Regions from separate parts of the Homo sapiens genome. Here regions 1 and 3 are each linked to region 2. The links are contacts of gene promoters, found by promoter capture Hi-C in human tissues and cell types (Jung and others, 2019). All regions are on one chromosome and are shown on one strand. The core of a region is centred on a gene start or on the middle of the fragment in contact, and the rest is flanking DNA. Distances in the headings are between cores, read along the strand shown. Region 1 overlaps IQSEC3 (IQ motif and Sec7 domain ArfGEF 3). Region 2 holds the start of SLC6A13 (solute carrier family 6 member 13). Region 3 overlaps KDM5A (lysine demethylase 5A).

What was found. Contacts are between HindIII fragments. The study calls those that stand out against the background at their distance.
Region 1: a fragment that was not itself captured here is called in contact with the fragment with the promoter of SLC6A13 in region 2 in 3 of the 25 tissues and cell types used here (IMR-90 fibroblasts, liver and mesendoderm cells).
Region 3: a contact is called between a fragment that was not itself captured here and the fragment with the promoter of SLC6A13 in region 2, in 4 of the 25 tissues and cell types used here (IMR-90 fibroblasts, hippocampus, lymphoblastoid cells and 1 more).

Annotation. Positions count from the first base shown.
Region 1 is chr12:151,079-154,526 of GRCh38, reverse strand. The region is part of intron 5 of IQSEC3 (IQ motif and Sec7 domain ArfGEF 3); the gene reads right to left. Among named protein-coding and RNA genes, the nearest start is that of IQSEC3-AS3, 3.6 kb to the right of the region's middle. RefSeq lists an enhancer at 577-1,491. The HindIII fragment of the contact is 4,498 bases long and covers 1-3,448 here.
Region 2 is chr12:261,480-265,006 of GRCh38, reverse strand. SLC6A13 (solute carrier family 6 member 13) reads left to right here and starts at 2,171. Exons shown (of 15, transcript NM_016615.5): 1 at 2,171-2,218. The HindIII fragment of the contact is 8,106 bases long and covers 516-3,527 here.
Region 3 is chr12:363,483-366,925 of GRCh38, reverse strand. KDM5A (lysine demethylase 5A) reads left to right here. Exons shown (of 28, transcript NM_001042603.3): 4 at 822-992. Among named protein-coding and RNA genes, the nearest start is that of KDM5A, 24 kb to the left of the region's middle. The HindIII fragment of the contact is 3,397 bases long and covers 1-2,983 here.

The DNA.
Region 1 (3,448 bases), core at 609-3,108, 110 kb after region 2:
CCCCAGGACTTGCCCCCATCTGTCGTGCACCCCACCCCTTCCCTGTTTCTGAACGCTGAGGTCCTGGCACCCGGCTTCCCACATCCACGTTCCTCCCAGAGCCTCTCTCTGAGTGCCTTCTGCCCCAGGGCTATGGACCAGGTCTCACCCTGCAATGGTGGGGGTGCTGGGAGGCCCAGGGCACTGTGGGGGCAGGCTGCCGCAGAGGCAGCGGGAGCAGCTGGTGAGGGTGGCATCTGCCCAGCCAAGCACGATGGCCTAGTTTCCAGCCCTTCACTCAGGTGACAAGCAGCCGTTCACTCACTCAAGTCTGCTGCTAAAAGCCCCGGTAGTGAGCTGAGAGCCTGAGAGCCAAGGACCGGGATGGGGGAAGCAGCCAGGTTGAAAAGTCGGCCCACAGAATGGGAGTTGAATACACCCCTCGTGGGCCTCGAAGCGGGGAGGGCTGCAGGGGTGGACACTTGGGCTGTGGAGCTGGAAGGGCCTCTCATCCAACATCTTCCAGTGTGTGCTCTCAGGACCCCACAGCGGAGTCATAAGGTGGTTTGTTAAAATGCAGCTCGCTGGACCCCACCCCAGACCCAGCAAATTAGAATATTTGGGGGCAAGTCCTGGGAATCAGCATTCTCTGCAAGATCTCCCGGTTGTTCCTAAATTGTGAAACCAAAGACTGAGCTGAGTGCAAGGGTAGGCCTCACTGCGGCTTTTAAAGTGAGTCCAGCAACTCACAGGCCACCAGGCAGCCGTCCTTAGGGGCATGTGTCCCCACCTGGCTATCGGGGCTGCTTTTGCATGGGGGTGGTGAGGGAGGGGTGGATGGAGGCATAAACAGATGTAGTTCTTCCCCTGGCTATGCACCTGCCGTCCTGCCTTCCTCCCCTCACTGCATTTGCCACCACAGGGTATCTGTGTTTCATGAACAGGTGCTATTCTGGGTTTCTCAGACCCTGGGGGAAAAAATGACATTTTCTGGCTGTGAAATCCCTAGCTGGAAGGGAGGAAGCTGTGCTGAGTGGTGGGACACTCTACCCTCCTGCCTGAGGAAGGCACTTCCTCACTGGAGAGCTGGGGGTTGGACCAGGTGACCTCTCAGGACTGGCACCCGGAGGCACGGGCCATCTCTGAAGCACTGCAGACGCTCCCAACGGCAGGGGGCAGACGACCCGCAGCAGCACTCCTGGCTGGCTGGTGGCTTCATCCCCACCCTCCTCTAGGGGGAATCACTGATCACTGTTTGCGTTCCTGATGGGGCCTGTGTCATCCTGGGGAAGGTGGCTGGGGGTGGGACTGTGCTGTCTACCATAAGCCCTGCTCATTCCAGGGTCCGTGTCCCCCTGGAAGCACCTATAAGCCTCGGCCCTCTACAGCATGAGCCTCCTCTGTTCACTCCCTGAGCATAAGCTTCTGCTTGCACCGTGCCCTCTTTTGCTCCCTCCCCTTCTCTCACTCTCTGTCCTGCTGCTTCTCTTATTTTGCAGTGTCTACCAGCACTCCTAATTCCCACTTTCCAGCCTTCTTTGCTGCCCTGGAATCCTCTTGGGGAGCTGAGTGTGGGCAGTTTACCAAATCCATGCTGCAGCCTCCACCCAGGGTGGCCTGGAGTCATCTCTCCTCATTGGTCATCTTTAAGGTAAAGAGCACCACACATTCCCGGGTGGTCTTTTCTGGTGTATCATCTCCCCATTTTACAGAAGACAAAACTAATGCCACGTAGGGCTGGCCCCATGCTCCCACAGCTAGGGAGAGCAGGCTTTCAGCTTCCTAATCTTGTGAGGCCTCTCCCTGCCCCACTGGGCTCTCTTCTCTTCACTCCTGTGTGTGTGTGGGGTGGCAGGGAGGTCCCTTACTCAAGTCGGGGGAGTTCCCTCTGAGCTCTCTGTACTGAGTATGGCTCTAAGTGCTTCACTATGTGTGCAATGACCTCATCTTCTCAAGCTTGTGCAATATGAACCATTGTACCATTATGTTTTTATTACATATGAGACTGAAGTACACTAGACAGCCAGCCCTACAGGCGTGCTGCACACATCTCATTCCTTGCTGACATCTCCTGGGGCAGGTGGTCCCCTGTGCCCTCCTCTCCCTCACCTCTCCCTGGCTCTCTGCTGCTCAGTGGCTGGCACTAATGCATGTCTTCCTAGGGGCTGTGATCTTACCCAGATGGCTTGGTGGGGACCTGTGAGAGGCCAAGGAGAAGCCCGTGGACACAGTTACACAGGAGAGCCTCTTGGTGCATGCGTGGGCAGTCAGCACGGGGGCTCTGTGGTCACCCTGCAGGTTCAGAGCTGGCCTGGGCACCTGGAGCCCACAGCAGGGTCCATATCGCTGACCTCCTGCCTTCCCCTTTCTGGTGCTTTTTGTGCCCTGTGGCAGTGGCTGGTTGACTCTTTCAGCAACGAGCACTGAGTGGCCCCGTGTGCAAGGCTGTGCTCGGGACCTGGTGTAAGTGGCCAGCAACACAGTCTCTGTCTTGGTGGGAGAGACAGGCATTGAACACAGAGTCAAAAATAATTCTTTACCTATAGTCATGATGAGTTCTATGTAGGGAAACGACGGTTCCAGGAGAGGACAAAGGAGATATATTTTATATTGTATGTCTGGAAAGGACTCTTTGGGGACATGGCATTTGAGCTGAGGCCTGAAAGATGAGTAGGAGGTGGCCAAAGGAAGGAGAGAGGGGAGAGCTGTCAGGTGGGCTAAGGGAGGAAGCATATGCAAAGGCTCACGGCAGGGAGGAGCTTCAAGGACCTAGGCAGGGTCCGCAAGGTTGCAGTGCAGACAGTAACAGGGAGAATGGTGACTGTGGGGCAGCAGCCAGGGCTCAGTCTGTCAGCTTTGTGGGTCATGAGAAGGATTTGGGAGTTTATCCTGAATGCACTGGGACACAATAGAGGGTATGATCAGAGGAGCGACAGGGTCCTGTTTGTTCTAAGAAGATTTCCCTGGCTGTTGGAGAGAAAATGAATGGCAGAGGGGCAGGGAAGAAGACAGAAGCAGGGGCCCAGTTAGGATGCTACTGCAGAGGTCCAAGCTACAGATAATGGGGCTTGGGCTAAGGCAGGAGCAGTGGAAACAAACTGAATGAATGATCCAGCTGCATCTTAGAGGAAGAACAGATGGGACTCGAGGTGCAGGGAATGTGGGAAGTGAGGAAAGGGAGGCATCACTGGTGCATCCTGGAGCTCTGGCTGGAGCACCCAGGGGCCTGGAGGTACCGTTCTCTAGTGTGAGTGTATCATGGTGCAGACACACGCTGGAGGAGAGACGGAGTCTCCATCTTGGGGCACACGAAGTCTGAGGTGTTCTTTCAGATAGCTACCGTGCCTCCCCTCTACTGAATCATCTCAGGAGAACCCAGGGGCCTGGAGGTACCATTCTCTAGTGTGAGTGTATCATGGTGCAGACACACGCTGGAGGAGAGACGGAGTCTCCATCTTGGGGCACACGA
Region 2 (3,527 bases), core at 922-3,421:
ATCCTCACTGACAATCTCTAGTGAGTCTTAAAACTTATGCAGCCTCTTGAGTAAGAACTGTTGAATACGGATTCTGTTGTTACCTGTTTTCAGGTTTCTTGACTTTGCACCCAGCAGACCAAAGGATGATGGCAACGTGAGGTAGATGCAAGGCTAGTCATGCCTGTTTTGTGTGGAACCCCAGACGGGAAGTTGTGAGGGACTGTCGCCAACATTTATCTACCAGTGGTTCTCAAGCTTTTTTTTTTTTTCTTTAACTTTTGTCAACCTAAGCAGGACAAAAAACCTACCATAGCCATTCCCACTTTATAGAGGAAAAAGAAATTGGGGATAACAAAGATTTGGAGAGGAATAAAATAGGAGTCAACATGGTAACATGGCAGCAGTTATGTAAAAACAAAAGAGTTGGTAAGTAAAGCCAACATTCCTTCATACAACAGCAGCAGCTCACAACCAACTCAGGATAAGCCTGATGATGTCCTTATCACTGACAGTCTTTCCTGGAAGCTGGAAATTGCAACCGTTTGCATATGTGAGGACACAGAAGGGGCTGTGCAACATTGCCAAAGGCTGAATGGTATCTGAGAAAACACCCGTTATCTGGTAATTTTAGATTACAAATGCCAAAGTTTATAATGCATAGTAGGCCATTAGTAAGTACCACTCAGTGATACGTAAAAATGGAAGTCAATAGCACTGCTTTGAAGATGGTCTTTTTTTTACATGAGTTTGTAGGCTGTCTCAGGACGCTTTTGGTTTATTGCTTTACAGAGCTCAGTCTAACAGATGAAAGCTTGAAAGGGGAGAGGAACAGGGGCCGCTGAAACATAAGAATAATAATTTCCAAGAAGCTTCTGGGAAGCTCTCCAGGTATTACCATGCAGTGTTTCCATGCCCCTACCCCATGCCCTTGAGTTAGATGAGGGATCAAGGAAACGGAAACTACCTTAGACTCTTCGATCCGTCTTTCTTTCCACACTTCTCCGTCATCTCAAGATGTCTCTATCACCTCACTCACTCATTGCCGCATCCCCTACCTAACTCATTCTCACAGTCTGGCCAGAGCCCAGCTTAGCTCAGGGGTCTCTCAGTCCCGTCTCCTTCAAGAAGACTTCCGGGCTCACTGCTCACTGTGAATAATCCCTTAAGGATGAATAACAGCTGCCATTTACAGTTAGTCATCATCTCCTGAAATCTCAAGCTAGACAGTGGCATACGTAGGACTCAGACCCCACACTCTCTGGTGTCAAAGTCTGAGCAGGTTTCCACTACATGTACTGTGCTTCAGCACATGGCTGAGGTGGGACTCTGCCCTGTCCTAGACTCCAGGCTGAATGAACTACTCTCACAGCCGCCTCTGTGGGCTGTTCCTGCAGAGAAACGAAGCTCCCTGGATGACCTCGGCCTCGCGCTCACCGCCTGCTCCTTCCCTTATAACAGCTTTAGGGCTTTGCTTTATTTTAAACGTTGGCACTTCCTTTTCTCTATTGATTTAAAAAATATTTTAAAATTCTAGCATATTAAAAAATCTAAACAATATTGAAAAAGTGGGGAAAAAATCTCCCTTACTGCCATCTCCTGATCTCAGTTCCACTCTACAAATGTAACTACTATTAATCATTTAGCGAAGATTTTTTCAGACTTTTTCTATATGTGTATAAATGTCTGTGTATGTTTGGGAAGTTTTTCTGACATCTCAGAGTTCTGTATCTATGTATCTTTGTTCTAAATCATCGTCCATTCCACATTGCAAGCTGCGAAACGGTAAGATAAATGTATTTTTAAATTAATCTACACAGCACCTGACCAAAGGAATACCTATTCTTGATGGATTTATAGGAGCACTTGTGTTGGAGACAGGGGTGGGAGGCAGGATCCCTCCAGAGAGACCCTGAGCTCACCAGGTGGGAAGCGCACATGAGCTCCGGGGAGGAGACCACACTTCATAAGCTCACCAGCAACTGGCCCGACCTGCCAGGGCGTGCACACTCCCCAGACTGCGAAATCACTCATGTGTGGGTTGTCCAGTGGCCGAGGGGAGGGGAGGGGAGAAAAGGGGAGGGGGAGGCACAAGGGTGGAATGTGGGCTGGGCCAAGTTTAGAATTTCAAGTGCCACAGAGGCGTTCTGGAACCACACTTTAAATAGCCAGCACCTTCTCCTTCCCCCTTAGATAATTCTTCTCCCCTGACTGGACCTCTGGCAGCAGCTTCACTAAGGTTCGAAATGTTTTCTTCTCTTTTTTTTCTATTTCTGCGTCTCAGACTGCAGGTTGGTGGGATCCATGGGACTTACAACCAAAGGACTTTTTTCTTACCCTCGCCTAGAAAGTACGCTTCTGACATGTATGTGTGCAAATGCAAAGATTATGTGCTATTTTCTTGACTTTCTGAAACTTGGGTGGCTGTTGACTTAAGTGACACTGTGATTTGGAAAGAGAGAGCCCTAGATTGAGAGGAAAGACAACTGGATTTAACTCCAAGAAAACAAAGTCTTTCTTCTCTGAGAAAAGAGAACAATGATCAACTCTGACAGGACTGAAAGAAAACAAAAATTTGAGTACCTGTTATTCTATTAAGTGTGTATACATATGTATATTTCCTCATTTAATTCTTATAGCTAAGTATATCCTATCTATCATCCCCACTTTTACAGATGAACAAACTAAGGCTCAGAGTCATTCATTAACTTCTCTGAAGTCAGACATTGGTATGAGAAAAAACTAATGTTTGAACCTGGCCTCATCTGACTCTACAGCTCATGACCTTTCAGACACAACATGCTACCTCTGAGAAGCAGCTCTAATGAGGCTAAGGGAGCCAGGAGAAGGCTACTGTTTCTCCTAGGGTCTGGGAGGGTGGAGAAGGGAAGGCTTTCCATCACTGGGAGAGATCCATCAGCTGGTAAAGGGAGGGGAGGCCAGCACAGTCAGTACCTTAGACAACCTTCCCAAAAGGACTGAGGAGCCCTCTTGGGACCAGTTACTTGAGTTTCTCCTTTGTAGAAAGGAGCTCATTCCCTAATTTATCAGATAAACATAGATGCCTGCTGTTCCCTGACTTTTTTTTTTTTTCTTTTTTTTGAGACAGAGTCTCGCTTTGTTGCCCAGACTGGAGTGCAGTGGCGCGATCTCGGCTCACTGCAACCTCTGCCTCCTGGTTTCAAGCGATTCTCCTGCCTCAGCCTCCTGAGTAGCTGGGATTACAGGTGCCTGCCACCATGCCCAGCTAATTTTTGTACTTTTCGTAGAGACGGGGTGTCACCATGTTGGCCAGGCTGGTCTCAAACTCCTGACCTCAGGAGATCCACCCGCCTCGGCCTCCCAAGTGCTGGGATTACAGGCGTGAGCCATTGCACCCGGCCTGTTCACTGACTTTCTAATTTTCTGGGTCAGAGCCAAAGTAGAGTCTGTGGCCAGAAGAGGTTACTGCTGAGAAAGTTCTGTTAACATGAACTTTGCTTGAGGCTTAGAAAAAAGTCCATCTGCCTCCTTCTCCAGAAAAGAGGCCACTCTGCAAAATCAAGGCA
Region 3 (3,443 bases), core at 36-2,535, 100 kb before region 2:
ACACAAAGGTTCAGTAAGAATATGGTATTATAATCTTATGGGAGCACTGTCATATATGCGGTCTATATTTGACCAAAATGTTATGCAGTGCATGACTGTATTTTAGAGCCTAAGAGATGTATAGTAACAGCTCCTGGACGTTAAGGAGCTTTGAAATATGTATTCTGTAGAGTGCCTGGCTTGATGTGACCATTCAGCCAAGTTAGCCAATTTATCTCATCGTTTTCTACCTTAATATATTCTGTACTCCGTATCGGTAAATCTACTGCAACCTAATCTTTTTCAGTGTTCCTTTATGATCTTCCATATAAAACTCTTGCCCTTTTGAAAAATTATAGCCTGTTTTTCACAACTGTCCTCTGTATTCATGGTTTGATTGACGTTTTTGTTAAGTTCTGTAAGTTACTTGGTTATTTCTAATTTCAGGATTTATGTTTATTTTGTATTATATAACATTTATTTTCATATCTATTTTTTATCTGTTTTTATTCTTATTTCATATTGTGAGTTCCTTAAGTAGGTAGTCTGTCTGTACATGTGTTTAGTTTTCTCACAGTGCGTACTGTACAGAGTATTCATTAAATATTTTTGAATGCTTGGTTTGAAGGTAGGCATAATGTTAATTACATTTTAAACCTCTGAAAAGCATTGTTTCTATTTCTTACTCTAAATGTTGACAAGTGTCAGTTTGGTTAGATACTCATTGAAAGGAAATTTGAAATTTAAGCCCTGAATAATTTTTCTATTTAGTAGACAAGACTTAAGAGTCAAGATGCTTGAATTTGCCTTTTTTCTCTAAGCAACTTTTACTTTCTTTTCAGATTGTTGCCAGCAAAGGAGGTTTTGAAATGGTCACCAAAGAGAAGAAATGGTCTAAAGTGGGTAGTCGCTTGGGATATCTGCCAGGAAAAGGAACTGGGTCTCTTTTGAAGTCACATTATGAAAGAATTCTCTACCCATATGAGCTTTTCCAGTCTGGTGTGAGCCTTATGGTGAGATGCATTATTCTTTTTAGAAAAAGTTGATAAATCCAGTTTGCCCAAGTACAAACTTTAGACTGTGTTTAACCCAAGTTAGCAGGCACCAAAATTTGGGGAAGCAAAGTGTATATCATAGTGTAAAAATCATAGCTGTTTTTGATGGTTTACAAGATAAAGAATAATGGAAATGAAGAATGTTTTCTTATTTATTTAAAATAAACCTTTATGACTGAAACTTTTTGAAAAAGTCCTGTTTGTTTCATGAATTTTTCTAAAACAGCTTTATTAGTTATGATTTATATACCATAGAATTCACCCTTTGTGGGTGCACCGTTGGTAAGCTTTAATACATTTCTACATTTATGCAGCGATCACTGTGATCCAGTTTTAGAGCACTTCCACTAGCCCCCAAAATTCTCTTGTTCATTTGTAGTTGGTTCCTGTACCACCCCCACACACAGGCAATTCCTGACCCGCTTTCTGGCTCTGTAGTTTGTCTTTTCTAGAACTTTCACCTAGATGTAATCATACAATATGATTTTGTGTCTGGCTTTTTTCACTTAGCCTAATGTTTTCAGAGTTCAGCCATGTTGGCTGGATGCGGTGGCTAATGCCTGTAATCTCAGCACTGTGGGAGGCTGAGGTGGGTGGATCGTTTGAGGCCAGAAGTTTGAGACCAGCCTGGGCATCATGGTGAAACCCTGTCTCTACTAAAAATACAAAAAATTAGCCAGGTATGGTGGTGTGCGCCAGTGGTCCCAGCTACTCCAGAGACTGTGGTAGGATGATTGCTTCAGCCTGGGAGATGGAGGTTGCAGTAAGCTGAGATCCTGCCACTGCACTCCAGCCTGGGTGACAGAGTGAGACCCTGTCTCAAAAAAAAAAGTTCAGCCATGCTATAGCATGTGTCAGTACTTTATTTTTATGGCTGAATAATATTCCATTGAATGGATATACCACATTTTGTTTATCCATTTACCAGTTGATGGAGTTTTAGATTGTTTCCAGTTTATGGCTATTATGAATAATGCTATGAATATTCATAGACAAGTCTTTGAGTGGACATATGTTTTCATTTCTCTTGGGTAGGTACTTGGGAGTGGAATTGCTGGGTTATATAGTAAGTTTATGTGTAAATTTGTTTGTTTGTTTTTTTTTTTTTTTTTGAGATGAGACTCCGTCGCCCAGGCTGGAGTGCAGTGGCGCGATCTCGGCTTGCTGCAAGCTCCGCCTCCTGGGCTCACGCCATTCTCCTGCCTCAGCCTCCCGAGTAGCTGGGACTACAGGTGCCCACCACCACGCCCACAGAATTTTTTGTATTTTTAGTAGAGACGGAGTTTCACCGTGTTAGCCAGGATGGTCTCGATCTCCTGACCTCGTGATCCACTCACCTCGGCCTCCCAAAGTGCTGGGATTACAGGTGTGAGCCACTGCGCCCGGCCGTTTATGTGTAAATTTTTTTTTTTTTTGAGGTGGAATCTTGCTGTGTCGCCCAGGCTGGAGTGCAGTGGCGTGAACTCGGCTCACTGCAGCCTCCGCCTCCCGGTTTCAAGTGATTCTCCTACCTCAGCCTCCTGAGTAGAGTAGTTGAGACTACAGGTGCATGCCACCACCCCCAGCTAATTTTTGTATTTTTAGTAGAGACAGGGTTTCATCATGTTGGCCAGGCTGGTCTTGAACTCCTGACTTCAAGTGGTCCACCCACCTTGGCCACCCAAAGTGCTGAGATTATAGGCGTGAGCCACCGCACCCGGCCTGTGTAAATTTTTAAGGACTGCCAAGTTGTTTTCCAAAATGGCTGAATCATTTTACTTTCCCACCAGTAATGTAGAGGCTTCTAGTTTTTCCACATCCTGGTCAACACTTGGTATTGTCAGTTTTTTTAATTATAGCCATTCTAGTTAGTTGTATAGTGATACCTTATTGTGGTTTTAATTTGCATTTCTCTAATGACTAGTGATGTGCCTATTTTCATATTCATATTAAACATTTGTATATCTTGGTGAAGTGTCTGTTCAGATCTTTTTTTAATTGGGTTGTTTGTCTTATACTTGTGAATTTGTTATACAGTTTGTGTACAACTCCTTTATCAGGTAAATGATTTGCAGATATTTTCTCCTAGTCTGTTATCTTTTCATTTTTGTACTGGTCACTTTTTGAAGAACCATTTTTTTATTTCTTTTTTCCTTCTATGGATTGTGCTTTTGGTGTCATATTTAAGAAATCTTTTCCAAGGTCACAAAGATTTTCTTCTTTGCTTTAATGTAGAAATTTTACAATTTCGGCTTTTATATTTTGGTCAGTGATGCATTTTGAGGCTTTTTTTGTGTGTATAGTATGAGGTGAAGATGTAAGTTTATTTTTTGGTGGGGAAGGGGGTATATGAATATTGAGTAGTACCAGCGCCATTTGTTTAAAAGGCTATCCTTTTCCCACTGATTTAGCTCACCACCATTGTTGGAG